Regions from separate parts of the Homo sapiens genome. Here region 2 is linked to region 1. Evidence: promoter capture Hi-C in human tissues and cell types (Jung and others, 2019). All regions are on one chromosome and are shown on one strand. The core of a region is centred on a gene start or on the middle of the fragment in contact, and the rest is flanking DNA. Distances in the headings are between cores, read along the strand shown. Region 1 overlaps SAMD4B (sterile alpha motif domain containing 4B). Region 2 holds the start of RINL (Ras and Rab interactor like).

Region 1 (6,715 bases), core at 2,616-5,115:
CTGAGGTGGGCAGATCGCTTGAGCCCAGGAGTTTGAGACCAGCCTGGGCAACAAGGTGAAAGTTGGGCCTAAGGGCCCTTTAATACCAACATCTCTGGATGAATAAGGGGATCCTATCTGCCTTCTTACCCATTCCTAGTTCTTTTTACAGCACGACCTAGGCCTTTGAGAACTTACACTTCATGAACAAGGTAACAGGCTAGTTACCTAGGGTTAACTCACTTTCATAACCTGAGAAGAGACTGTCAGAAGCCAAGGGAGCACAACTTCTCTTATAAGAATCAACCATTATTTCCAGAAACTCCTGAAATACGTACACAAAACATGTACACCACTGCATTAGCAAAGAATGAGCTTTTTGTATGAATGGTGCTGGGGAAGGGAGGGAGAGGAGAGGAGAAGCCAGGCAGGGCCTCCTGGAAGATAAGTACAGTATGGGGAGCTCCGGTAAACTCTGGAATAGAGAGGAAGCTAGCATTCTTCCTCCCACTCCTAAATGTCTTGACACCCCTTCCCCCCGAAAAGTTTATTCTCTGCTTCCTTTCCCTTCTTTACACTTGTTTTCTCTCACTTAGGCATGTAATTAACTCCTGTAGATTCAATCATCACCTCTCTGTGGACAACTGAGACATTTTTTTGAGTCATCTTTGACTTCTTCCATTTCCCAAAGACCCAGTCATTAGGTCTTGATATTTCTTTTTTCTTAATGTCAGCTACACATGCCTTGCTTATCTTTCCCCAAACCTAAGTGGCTCTAGAACCAGACTGCCGGGTTGGAAATATAAGCCTGCCACTTACTACCTGTGTAATTTTGGGCAAGTGATTTCACCTTGCCATGCCTGTTTTGTCATCTGTAATGTGGGTGTAATAATAGTACCTACTGAGAAGGAAGACAGAAAATAATAATAGTGCCTACTCTCATAGAGTTGTGAGGCATAAATGACTTGGCTATTATCATTATTCTAGATTCCTCTCTTTCTCTAATCCCATCATCAAGTCCTGTTTTCTGTACACCCAAAATATATCTGCTTCTCTACATCTTCACTACCACCACCACCACCACATTCATGTCACCATTTCTCATCTGGACAAATGGATTGTCTCCTAACTTTCCTTCCTGATTCTGTCCTGACCCTCTGTTTTCCTCCCAGAAACCAAAGTGAGCTTTCTAAAAAAATTAATCAGATCATGTCGCTGTCTTGCTTTTAAAAACTCCCTTCTAATAGTTTCCCAATCCCCTTAAATGAAAATAGAAACTCCTTACTGTGGCCCTTAGGCTGCAAGTAATCTGGCTTCTGTCAGCCTTTCCAACCCTCACCCCTCTCCCTCACTTAGGCTTTAGCCACACTGGTCCTTGCGATTCCCTGAACATATGGCAGGGCTTTTGCACCTGCTGACCTCTCTGCCTGAAATGCTCTTCCCCGGACCGTCACAAGGTTGGTTCCTTCTCATCAATCAGATCTGGGCTCACCTGTGCCCCATTCTGCCTCATCTGCCCAGTAGGAAGGAGTCTATGATATCATCATCAAGAGATGTTTCTTCAAAGGCTGCAGCTCTTCCAAAAACACCTAGACTGTAAGATCCATGAGAGAAGGGAAGACTGTAGCTATATTATTCATTGCTACATCTCCAATTCCTAGCATAGCACCTGGTACATAGCAGGCCCTCAATAAATATCTGTGATAAATTTCCCCACCTTGCAGAGGTCCTTTTTCTGCATGTAACAATGCTTAGATTAGAATGTTCCACTCCCAGATCTTCCCACAACTGGTGCCTTCTCATCTTTCTGGTTATCAGGCTCAACTGTCACCTCCCAAAAGAGGCCTCTTCTGATCCCCCTGTCTACTACAGTGGCCACTCCCACCCTCTCTTTCACACTGTTTTATTTCCTTCACAGCATGAATCACACTCTGATTTTTTTGTTTCCTCCCCCCATCAGAATATAAATTCCATGAATTTCAGGACCTTGAATGTTTTATTCACTGCTCTGTCTCCAGTACCTAGAATAGTGCCTCCATGCATTAATGAATGAGTGCAGGCTGGAGATATTTGAGACTTGCATACTCCATACACTGCTGTTCTGTAACTTGCCCTGAACCCGCTTCTATTCAACAAGTTTACACTAAAACAAACAAAACAAAACTCCACTCACAGCAATCCTACTTAACTCTCTTCCAAAGTTCTGTGTCTTGGAAACCTTAAACTGTGGTGAGGGTATTGCCATTACTCCTGGATTCTGCTCCCCTGAGGCCACCATCAAGCCAGGCTGATCACCTCATATCACCCGTGATATCCCAAAGCAAAGTGTGGTTGAGTCAGACCAGCCACAAGCTCTCTCTAGACCCAAACAATCACAGAGCAGAGAATGACTGCGGCTGGGGGACAGTGGGGAGGGAGATTGCCATCACTGCTCAGAAAGTTCATCGGATGGAATCACAGGCCTATTTGGCTCAGCAAGCCAGAGACTGAGTTGCAGGGTACAGAACCCAAAATATGTTTCTAAGGATCTTCTGGCATAATCTCACATCTATTCAAGGAAGAAACTATTTTCAAACTGGGACTCTCAAGAAAGAGTTCTCTTTCCACTAAGGCTTTCCAAGGAGGTAGGGTTAAAACCTGGGGCTGCTGAGGACCATATTTGTCATCCAAAGCAGAAGCTTGTTGAGGATGAAGCTAACTCAGTGGAGAAATGGGAGGAGATGACTGAGAAAATTATTTGAACACCTGGATGCAGCTAGGTCTGAAGCCAACCTAGCTCTGGACTTTCCAGTAACAAAAGCCAATTAATCCCCCACTTTTTTCATTAAACCACTTTGAGCTAAGGTTCTATCACTTTATGTTTTTAGAGTTCTGGCTGATATGAGCTTTTTTTTTATTTTATTGTTTTTCTAACATTGCAATTATGGGCAAGACATTGTTCTAAGTACTTTACATGTATTAACTTATTTAATCCTCGTAACAATTCTATGAAGTAAAGTATCATTATTTCCTTCATATTTTTAGCTGTGGAAACTAAAAGACCAGGGAAGTAACTCGTCCTAGGGTACAAAACTGGTGAGTGGTAATGTGGGATACAAATCCTGTCCAGACCCAGGGTCTGCATACCTAACAACTACTGCCCCATTGCAGCCAAACCTATCTTAACTAAAAATCAAACTTTTTGACCCAAGGCACTACCATCTTGGAATGGACAGTGCCCACAGACCCTCTATTAGTCCTACCTGTTCTTAATCTCATCATATGCAAAATGAGGATAATGGTAGTTTACTTACCTCATAGGGTAGGTAAACTCCTACCTCCTATGAATACATGTAAAGCACTTAAACAGTGCCTGGCAGTTAGAAAGCATTCAAAAACCAGTGGTCATTATTATTATTACTCTGTAGGTCACTAAAGTGCAGCTGGCAAATACAATGCAAATGGAGGAAATCTGTCTTCTTTCATCTCTATCTTTTGGGTGAAGAGAAGAGATACCATGGGTGAGAGATGAGGAGGCTTTGTCTTTGACCCATTGCTTAAGCTGTTTCCTCTGCCTGGGGGCACCATCATTGTCCCAACTCCCATGGAACACTATCCAGCCCAAATACCACCTTTTCTGTGAAGTCTTTCCAAATAAAAGGCTCCCTCTCACTGCTGAATTTCTACAGCATATAATTTGTACCTCATTTTCTGCTCTGTACATGCCCAAGCCCCCTACTGGTATTGTGAGCTCCCTGAAGGCAGGCCCCAATATTTACCCTGGGGTCTCTGTTTCCCCTTCTGGGCCCTAGAAACAGAATCCCTTGAAAAAATGCCAAGAGCTCTGTGGAGGCTCCAGACTTAGCAGCTGAGAGGGGCTGCTAAGAGAAGCCAACCAGGACGGGTGAGGCAGGTCACCAGGCAAAGGACTTGGGGTAGCTCAGAATCAGGAAACAGCACAAAGAAAGTCCCTAAGACAGGAGCAAGTAGGGCAGGAGTAAAGGCAAAGGGTGCTGTGTGGAGAAAAAAAAGGGAGGTGAGAGGAGAGGAGGGGGCAGGGAAGGTGTACTAAACCTGAATGAGGAGTGAGATCTGAGGAACTTGGAGATTTCTGGCCAAATGCAGAAGGAAGAGCTGCTTATTCTCCAGTGATTTCCAATAACTTACAAAGAGTAGATCCCACCTTGTGGGATTCAGAGAAGAACAAGACACATCCCGTACTTTCAGAGTTCCTAGTCCAGTGAGGGTGAGTGGACAAGTACATTAAAATCTACAAGGTTGAAGGTGAGTGGTGTTCTAAGAGGTACAATGGAGGTGGAGGGGTCTTGGCAGTAAGACACAGAATGAAAAGACCTCCTGAGGGTGCCTCAAGGGGAGGGTGCCTATGTGAAGAAACAGATGGACAAGAAGAGATGGATATGTGTGTTCAAAGAAGCAGCAATTTAAAGAAGCACCAAAGGCTGGTAGTGGGCTGGAGGGGTAGCCAGAAAGAGAAAGCACTGAGGAAGATCTGAAAAGAAACCATTCAAAAGTAGAATCGGAAATAACTGCTCAGAGGATGGAGTAACCTTGTGGAGAAGCCAAGATCCTTTCAAGGTAGGTAAGAAATCTTTCTGGAGGATGGGTACTTCATAAAGGGGATTCCTAGGAAACAGGAAAGCAGCAGTGGGCAGTAGGGCACAGAGGCATACCCTGAGGCATCTTTCAGGGGGCTTTTAGTGAGGAAAAGGAAATCCTCCTAAAGGGCACAGGTTCTCAAACTTGCGTGTGCATCAAAATGACCAGGAGGGTTTGTTAAAAACTCTTGATTGCTGGGCCCTGCTCCCAGGTTTTCAGTTTCAGTAGATCTGAGTGGGATTCAAGAATGTGTATTTCTAACAAATGTGGCTGCTGCTGGGCCAGGAACCACACTGAGAACCACTGCTATAGGGGAAGGGATTATTTGGTGAGGAGGTCCTCAAAGGGGAGAAGGAAGAAGGCTTCTGAAAGGGAAATGGGGAGAATCCTAAGTCTCTAAGGAGGGTGTTAAGGGTCTCTTGATCTCTGAAGGGAAGAGGGGTCTATGAGCATGGCACCTAAGAAAAATGGTCTGAAAGAAAGATCTCGGAGCACTGGGATTTCAAGGGGGCGGGGAAAGGTGTCTCTCAAGAATCTTTACAAGGAAACATAGAGGCTCTTGGGCAACGAGTCTGGAGAATGTTGGGGACCTCTGAAGGGATAATGGGAAAAGGGGGCCCCCTGAGAAAGGTCTCTGAGTTGACTTCAGAGGAAAGAGAATGGGGAAATGAGAGGGTGTAAATAGCAATTCTAAAGTTAGTGGGTAAATCTGATAGGGTCCTAAATAATGTTTCTTGGGGATGTCAGAAGTGGAATCTGAGGGAAAGTTCTGAGGAAGTCTCAGGAAGCGCTGGGAGTGGGTGGCTGATGGAGGGCAATTTGGGAGAAAATTCTCTAAAAAGTGTCTGAGGAAGGTGTGGTCTTCTGAGACTGGTCCTGGAGTGGGATGACAGAGGGATGTTTTTAGGAAAAACTCTTCAGAGATCTCAGTTGAGGAGAAAGCTGAGTAAAGTCTCCAAAAGAGTATATGGGGAAGGCGGGGTCTTCTGAGAGAGTGTCAGAGGAGAGGGTTTTTCAGAAAGAATTATAGGACTTTCTCAGAGCAAGAGCTCGGGTTATTTTGGGGGAAAATTAGGTGTGTGTGAGGGTCTTCTTCAAGGGATTCTAGAGGATTTAGGGGACCTGTGTGAGCAAGTTCAGGGAGGGATATCTCTAGAAAAGTCCCTTAGTAAGGCAGAAGTATTGATTCAAGGGGTTCTGGTGGTGTCAGGAAGGTCTTGGAGGGATTTCAAGAACATACGTCAGGAGGGCTCCAGGGGGTCGCTGGGGTCTCTAAGCTGTGTGTGTGTGTGGGGGGGGGGGGTCCTGAAAACCTGCATATCAGAGGGGTCACCAAGAGAATCTTACGGTCTTACAGGGGTTGTGAGGAGGATCTTCAGAAAATTCCTCTAAAACCGGTCTGCAAGGGGGGATTCTGAGGTGTTAGTGAAGGGGAGTTCTACGGGATCTGAGAGAAAAACCATGAGGAAAGTTTTCAGGATCCTTAAACAATTTTTGGAGCGTGTGATGTGGGGGACTGGAAAAGATGTGGAGTATGTAAAAGGGATTTTGGAAGAAGCTTTTGGAATATGATGCTGAGAGTCCTCTGGAGATTTCAGGCAATTGCTGGAGATTTTTAGAATGAGTGGGGGTGGGGAAGGGGATCCCGGTGAAGATCACTGGGCTACATGAGGGTGATCTCTAGGGCATTTTAGGGTGGTGAGACCAGGGGGAGACAGGAGGCCTCTGGGGGAGACTTTTGGGATCTGTGGAAAGGTCCAGAGGGATACGTGAAGGGGGAGTGTGTATGAGAGATGGTTGCAATACGGTGGGGAGGGGGATGGAGTCTTCTAGGTGAGTTTTTGGGATCTGGGGGCATTTCACAAAGTCTGTGAGGAAGATTTATTTTGGGGATATGGGAAGGAGATCTTCAGGGAAGATGATCACGGTCCGTCGGGGGCATTCTGAAGGACTTCTGGGAGGGGGAATCAGAAATGCAGGGGGTATGAGCGGAAAATCTCCAAGGAGGTTTCTGGAATGGGGTAAGTGGGAGGGAAAATTCTTAGGATCCGGGAGGGGGAAGTCGGGTGAGCCTGTTGGGCTGTGAGAGGCAGGGCTCCGGGGGAGAGTTCTGGAATGGACAGGGGTCCGGAGGGAGCCT
Region 2 (6,715 bases), core at 1,443-3,942, 470 kb after region 1:
CTGGGGGCGGGGGAGGGAGCGGTGGCGCAGCCTGGGCGGAGGCTCCCAAGCTCACGCCCCTCCCCGCAGGACTTCCTGAAGGTGGACCTCCTCCTGGTCATGGGTACCTCCTTGCAGGTGCAGCCCTTTGCCTCCCTCATCAGCAAGTAGGTTGGGGGCTGTGGCTGGGAGGACGGCTGGGCACCCAGGGCCAGGACAGACCCTGACCCCTTAGCTCCCCCTCCCCACAGGGCACCCCTCTCCACCCCTCGCCTGCTCATCAACAAGGAGAAAGCTGGCCAGGTAAGAGCCCTTCTTCAAGCCCCCGTCGTCACAGGCTCCCCCTTCCCTCTCACCCTTTTCCTCAGAGGGAACCCCCACTGTGGAACCCCAGCACTTTGCATTCCTCAGCTCAGAACCTGGGGCTCTAGAATCCAGAGGGGTCGGGTTCCAGGCCTCTGGGACATTCACTGCCCTTTTGAGCAAGTGATAGAATTCCAACTCAAACCAGCTGAAGCCAGATAGGAAGGCCGGGCTTCCAGGGACTGAGGAGGTGGGAGGGGGTGCAGGGGTCAGGAGAGACAGTGCGGGGGGCGGGGTTGGGTCCACGCTCTGGGTCTCTCAGGTCTGTTTTTCCTGGGCAGCCTCACTCTAGGGCAGGTGCTCCCTCCTAGGTGTTCCCCTCAGGGGAAGTAGGCAGGGTCACCGGGCAAGCAGCGCACGCTGTGGGCAGACACTGTCCCAAGTCTTAGCCTGCGTGAACTCACTGGCGCCACAACCCCATCGCGGTTTTGTGATCACCCCTATTCTACAGGAAACTAAGACACAGAGAGGACAAGTCACTTGACCAAAGTCACTGAGCTGGCTGGGCGCAATGGCTCACGCCTGTAATTCCAGCACTTTGGGAGGCCGAGGCGGGTGGATCACCTGAGGTCAGGAGTTCGAGACCAGCCTGACCAACATGGTGAAACCCCGTCTCTACTAATAATACAAAATTAGCCGGGCATGGTGCTGGGCACCTGTCATCCAGGCTACTCGGGAGGTTGAGGCGGGAGAATCACTTGAACCCAGGAGGTGGAGGTTGCAGTGAGCCGAGATCACATCATTGCACTCCAGCCTGGGCAACAAGAGTGAAACTTTGTCTCAAAAAAAACCAAAAAAACAACAACAAAAAAAAAACAAAGTCACAGAGCTAGGATACAAACCCAGGCCACCTGGCTCCAGGGTCTGTGCTCTTAGCTCTCCCTTCCCTGCTCCTGCCCCTGACCCACCCCCTCCCTGACAGTCGGACCCTTTCCTGGGGATGATTATGGGCCTCGGAGGAGGCATGGACTTTGACTCCAAGAAGGCCTACAGGTGAGGCCCCGCCGGGGGTTGGGGCAGCCTGGAAGGGACAGGGTGAGGTGGGAGCGGGGGCACGAAGGCAGATGAGAGGAGCAGGCAGGGGCGAGCCCGCCTGGGAACTCTGATCTCCTGCTGCACCGCAGGGACGTGGCCTGGCTGGGTGAATGCGACCAGGGCTGCCTGGCCCTTGCTGAGCTCCTTGGATGGAAGGTGAGGAGCTGAGCAACCCCAGCCTGTCCTGAGCCCCATCCCTGGACCCTCTCCCCACCCCATGGGTCCTCTGACCCCATGATGCACAGTGACCTTTGACTTCTGTGACCTTTGCTCCTGCAGAAGGAGCTGGAGGACCTTGTCCGGAGGGAGCACGCCAGCATAGATGCCCAGTCGGGGGCGGGGGTCCCCAACCCCAGCACTTCAGCTTCCCCCAAGAAGTCCCCGCCACCTGCCAAGGACGAGGCCAGGACAACAGAGAGGGAGAAACCCCAGTGACAGCTGCATCTCCCAGGCGGGATGCCGAGCTCCTCAGGGACAGCTGAGCCCCAACCGGGCCTGGCCCCCTCTTAACCAGCAGTTCTTGTCTGGGGAGCTCAGAACATCCCCCAATCTCTTACAGCTCCCTCCCCAAAACTGGGGTCCCAGCAACCCTGGCCCCCAACCCCAGCAAATCTCTAACACCTCCTAGAGGCCAAGGCTTAAACAGGCATCTCTACCAGCCCCACTGTCTCTAACCACTCCTGGGCTAAGGAGTAACCTCCCTCATCTCTAACTGCCCCCACGGGGCCAGGGCTACCCCAGAACTTTTAACTCTTCCAGGACAGGGAGCTTCGGGCCCCCACTCTGTCTCCTGCCCCCGGGGGCCTGTGGCTAAGTAAACCATACCTAACCTACCCCAGTGTGGGTGTGGGCCTCTGAATATAACCCACACCCAGCGTAGGGGGAGTCTGAGCCGGGAGGGCTCCCGAGTCTCTGCCTTCAGCTCCCAAAGTGGGTGGTGGGCCCCCTTCACGTGGGACCCACTTCCCATGCTGGATGGGCAGAAGACATTGCTTATTGGAGACAAATTAAAAACAAAAACAACTAACAATCCGGTCTGGCCTCCTGTTTCTTTCTGTGGGCACCCAGGGAAATCTCTGAAGGGAGGGGGTTAGATCTTGGGCCACTAAGGAACCAGAAAGTCTCCGGGATCCAGAGTGAGGGGTAACAAGAGGGTCCTCACGGGGGCCCTCGTGGCTCTGACCCCTGGACTCCCAGCCTGCCAGTGTCCCTTCCTCTAAGCCCCGTCACTAAAGGCCTGAGGCCCCAGAAAGAGGGAGGAAAGTTGACTTCAGATACCCCAGCCCCGCCTCTTCCCCCTGCCTGCTCAGCTTCCTCTCTCCACTTCCTGCTACTGCAGGCCTCTCCTCCGAGAACAGGTAGGGCCCCCAGGAACCGAGCATCTGGCATCTTCAGCCCCTGCTGCCTCCCTTTGGTATGAGGCAGCTGCCCTGACCCACCCCTGCCACGCACTGCCCACAGCCTCCTCTCCTGCCACGGTACACAAGCAGGCATCTGCTTCCCTCTCCCCTCCCCTCCCCTCCCTTCCTTCCTGCTCTTGCCTGGGCAGGGCACCTGCGCCTCCCTGCCCACCTCCCTCCTTCCTAATAACACCCTGGCCTTCTGGTCAATGGCCTAATGTATTTGTTTAGCTGCCTATTATCCATATGCTACACCTGCCCCAAACAAGAATGGAAGGCCCTGAGGGGAGGAGCCTGTCCTGTTCATCACCCTCTCTCCAGGGCAGAGGCACCTAATTCCAGCCTGTATTCAGTAAATACTGGATGGATGGAAGGAAGGAAGGAAGGGAGGGAGGGAGGGAGGGAGGATGGATCCTCCCCCGATCCAGGTCTCCTGCTCCTGGGACTGCTGCTGGGATAAGTGCCACCCTAAGTGATAACCTACGTAGGACTCTGTACCTGGTTAGGAGCTGGGGCCTGATGGGTGGATGAAGAGAGAGAGGAACAGATGTGTGATAAAGCAAGATGAGTAAAATGTTCATGGTAGAATCTTGGTAGTGGGCATAGGGATGTTTCCTGTACAATTCTTTCAGCTTTTCTCTATGTCTGAAATTTTTCATAATAAAATGCTGGGGGAAGAGATTCAGTGGCCCCTCCATGGTGTGGGAAGGGAGGAAGAGGGGATGTTATTACCTTTCCAGATATAGGGACTGCCTACTCTGGGCCAAGAACTTTTCCAGGCGCTGACTGGGTTTTGCCAAGGGCTGGCCCACATTTACACAGCCCCCATGGCTGTTAAAAATCTTAACATATTTCCTACCACTTCAGTAAAGAGCTATTGTTTTGAGTCCTCTCCCCACACCGCAAGACACACTGGCCTCTCTCCTGGGATCCCCAGATTCCCCACCATCCGGTACTAAAGATTTAACCCCTGCCGGCCGGGTGTGGTGGCTCATGCCTGTAATCTCAGCACTTTGGGAGGCCGAGGCGGGGGGATCACTTGAGGTCAGGAGTTTGAGACCAGCCTGGGTAACACGTCAAAACCTTGTCTCTACTAAAAAATACAAAAATTACCCAGGCGTGGTGGTGCACGCCTGTAATCCCAACTACTCGGGAGACTGAGGCACAAGAATCGCTTGAACCTACGAGGCGGAGGTTGCAGTGAGCTGAGATCGTGCCACTGCACTGCAGTCTGGGCAATACAGTGAGACTCCGTCTCAAAAATAAAATAAAGAATTAACCCCTGCCACGGCAAGCGGCCTCTGGGGTCCATTCTGATTGGTCAGGGTCTCTGCCATATTGATTGTAAATATCTTGAACATGACCCGAGGGCTAGAGCAGCTTTGAGTCTTACCTTTCTCCCTGCCAGAGGCCAGGTCATGACTCACTGGCTTCCTGCAACCTGACGATGGCCCAGCCAGAAGACAAGGCACCTGAAGTCCCCACAGAGGGGGTGAGGTGAGGCTACTAGGGCTGAGGCTATGCCCTCCTTCCCCTGCATCCAGAAACCCTTTCCATCCAATACCTCCCTCACTACAGAATCCTGAATCACATCTCTGAGCCTCTGCCCTGGGCCTGCCCCTTCCTGTACCTTTGACCTCACCTCATTGTCCCACTGCCCACCTCTGACCCCTGACTCCCTGGACACTGTCCATCCCAGGCTGGTCCCACCACAGGTGAACAAAGCAGACAGGACCCCTCTAGGGGTCCTCAGCACCCTAGAGCCACTTACTCGCCTGCAGAGGACATGGGGGGTGTGGCATGTGCCAGAGCTGGATACCCAGGATGCGGAGGCCCTTGTGGGGCTGTGGCCACTAGGGGTGAGTACTCACAGCTGGGGGCCCATCCTGACACCCTAGATTAGGACTCTGCTGGTTACTAGTGACAAACATGACACAAATTGGGCAAACCAAAAAGGCTATTTATTGCTGGGTGCAATGGCTCATGCCTGCAGTCCTAGCTACTCATGAGGCTGAGGTGGGAGGATCATTTGAGCTCAGGAGGTCAAGGCGGCAGTGAGCTGAGATCATGCCACTTCACTTGAGCCTGGGTGATGGAGCAAGACCCTGTCTAAAAAAAAAAAAAAAAAAATGTAATTTCAAGAAGCTCTGGATCCTGAACTTCAGAACACTTATAAATTCCTCTTCATCCCATTTCTTGGCTTTGCTTTCAACTGCGGGGAATTTTGGATATTTGGGACTGAATATAACAAACACCTGTCCTACAGCGGTTTAAACAAATAGGCATTTATCTTCCTAACATAACCAAAAAGGCAGCTGCTGGCTTTAGATCAGCAGTGCAGTGACATTGAGGCCAGCATAGCTATAATTCTCTTGGACTTCTCTCACAGCTTCCCGGGGGCTGCCCCAGGCCCAAGCACCTGCGTGCATTCCAGGCAGGAAGAACAGAGGCACCACTTGCATCTGTTTATTTTACAGGAAAAATAAAGGTTTTCTTTTCTTTTTTTTTTTAATTTTGAGAGTTTCACTCTTGTTGCCCAGGCTGGAGTGCAATGGCATGATCTCGGCACACTGCAACTTCCGCCTCCCAGGTTCAAGCGATTCTCCTGCCTCAGCCTCCTGAGTAGCTGGGATTACAGGCATCTGCCACAACGCCCGGCTAATTTTTTGTATTTTTAGTAGAGATGGGATTTCACCATGTTGGCCAAGCTGGTCTCAAACTCCTGACGTCAGGTGATCCACCCACCTCTGCCTCCCAAAGTGCTGGGATTACAGGTGTGAACCACCGTCCCCGGCCAAAATAAAGGTTTTCACAACTGATTCAGAAAATATAGATGGCTGGCCGGGTGTGCTGACTCACGCCTGTAATCCCAGCATTTTGGGAGGCTGAGGTAGGAGGCTCGCTTAAGCCTAGGAGTTCAAGACCAGCCTGGGCAACAGAGCAAGGCCCAGTCTCTATTAAAAAAAAAAAAAAAAGAAAAAAGAAAAAAAAAAGGATGGGGCCCAGGTAGCAATATTTTTAATTTTTTTATTTATTATTTTTATTATTATTTTTTGAGATGGAGTCTCCCTCTGTCACCCAAGCTGGAGTGCAGTGGCACGATATTGGCTCACTGCAACCTCTGCCTCCCGGGTTCAAGCGATTCTCCTGCCTCAGCCTCCCGAGTAGCTGGGATTACAGGCGCCCGCCATTACACCCGGCTAATTTTTGTATTTTTAGTAGAGACTGGGATTCACCACGTTGGCCAGGGTGGTCTCGAACTCCTGCCCTCAGGTGATCCACCCGCCTCGGCCTCCCAAAGTGCTGGGATTACAGGCGTGAGCCACCGTGCCCGGCTGTAGCAATATTTTTAACAGCTCTCTTGGGACGTATACAGCCAGAGCTAAGAACCACCACCTATATCAATCATGATCCATATATCAATCATACTCATGGCTGGGTATATTAATGCCGTGAACAAGGAATTCTGCAAGGAATGTGGAATAGGTTTGGAGACGACAGCAAACGGGGGCTACCACAGCTTCCTCCTCAGGAGGGTATCATCCTTCCCAGCTCAGAGCTGTATCCCACCAGTTTAGCAACACCAGTGTAACAAATGAAGTCTTTCCAAAAGAGCTCCAGCACGCAGTGGCTCACGCCTATTATCCCAGCACTATGAGAGGCTGAGAAGAGCGGATCACTTGAAGTCAGGAGTTCAAGACTAGCCTGGCCAATGTGGTGAAACTCTGTCTCTGCTAAAAATACAAAAACTTAGCCGGGCGTGGTGGCAGTCGCCCGTAATCCCAGCTACTTGGGAGGCTGAGGCAGGAGAATCGCTTGACCCCGGGAGGCGGAGGTTGCAGTGGGCAGAGATTGTGCCACTGCACTCCAGCCTGGGCGACAGGGCAAGACTCCGTCTCAAAAAAAAAAAAATCCTGTGGAAGATGTCCATTGGCTGA

Evidence for each region. The method cuts DNA at HindIII sites, captures the fragments that hold promoters and counts their contacts. A contact is called where the count stands out against the background at its distance.
Region 2: a contact is called between the fragment with the promoter of RINL here and a fragment that was not itself captured in region 1, in 1 of the 25 tissues and cell types used here (dorsolateral prefrontal cortex).

Annotation. Positions count from the first base shown.
Region 1 is chr19:39,343,146-39,349,860 of GRCh38, reverse strand. All of the region lies in intron 1 of SAMD4B (sterile alpha motif domain containing 4B), which reads right to left. Among named protein-coding and RNA genes, the nearest start is that of SAMD4B, 4.1 kb to the right of the region's middle. The HindIII fragment of the contact is 5,468 bases long and covers 1,132-6,599 here.
Region 2 is chr19:38,874,252-38,880,966 of GRCh38, reverse strand. RINL (Ras and Rab interactor like) reads left to right here and starts at 2,692. Exons shown (of 12, transcript NM_001195833.2): 1 at 2,692-2,735; 2 at 4,186-4,274; 3 at 4,477-4,636. The coding sequence starts at 4,225. It overlaps SIRT2 (sirtuin 2), which reads left to right. Exons shown (of 16, transcript NM_012237.4): 12 at 70-146; 13 at 231-282; 14 at 1,265-1,335; 15 at 1,467-1,533; 16 at 1,657-2,407. The coding sequence ends at 1,812. RefSeq lists enhancers at 2,056-2,155, 2,196-2,315 and a silencer at 2,856-2,905. The HindIII fragment of the contact is 14,230 bases long and covers 1-5,899 here.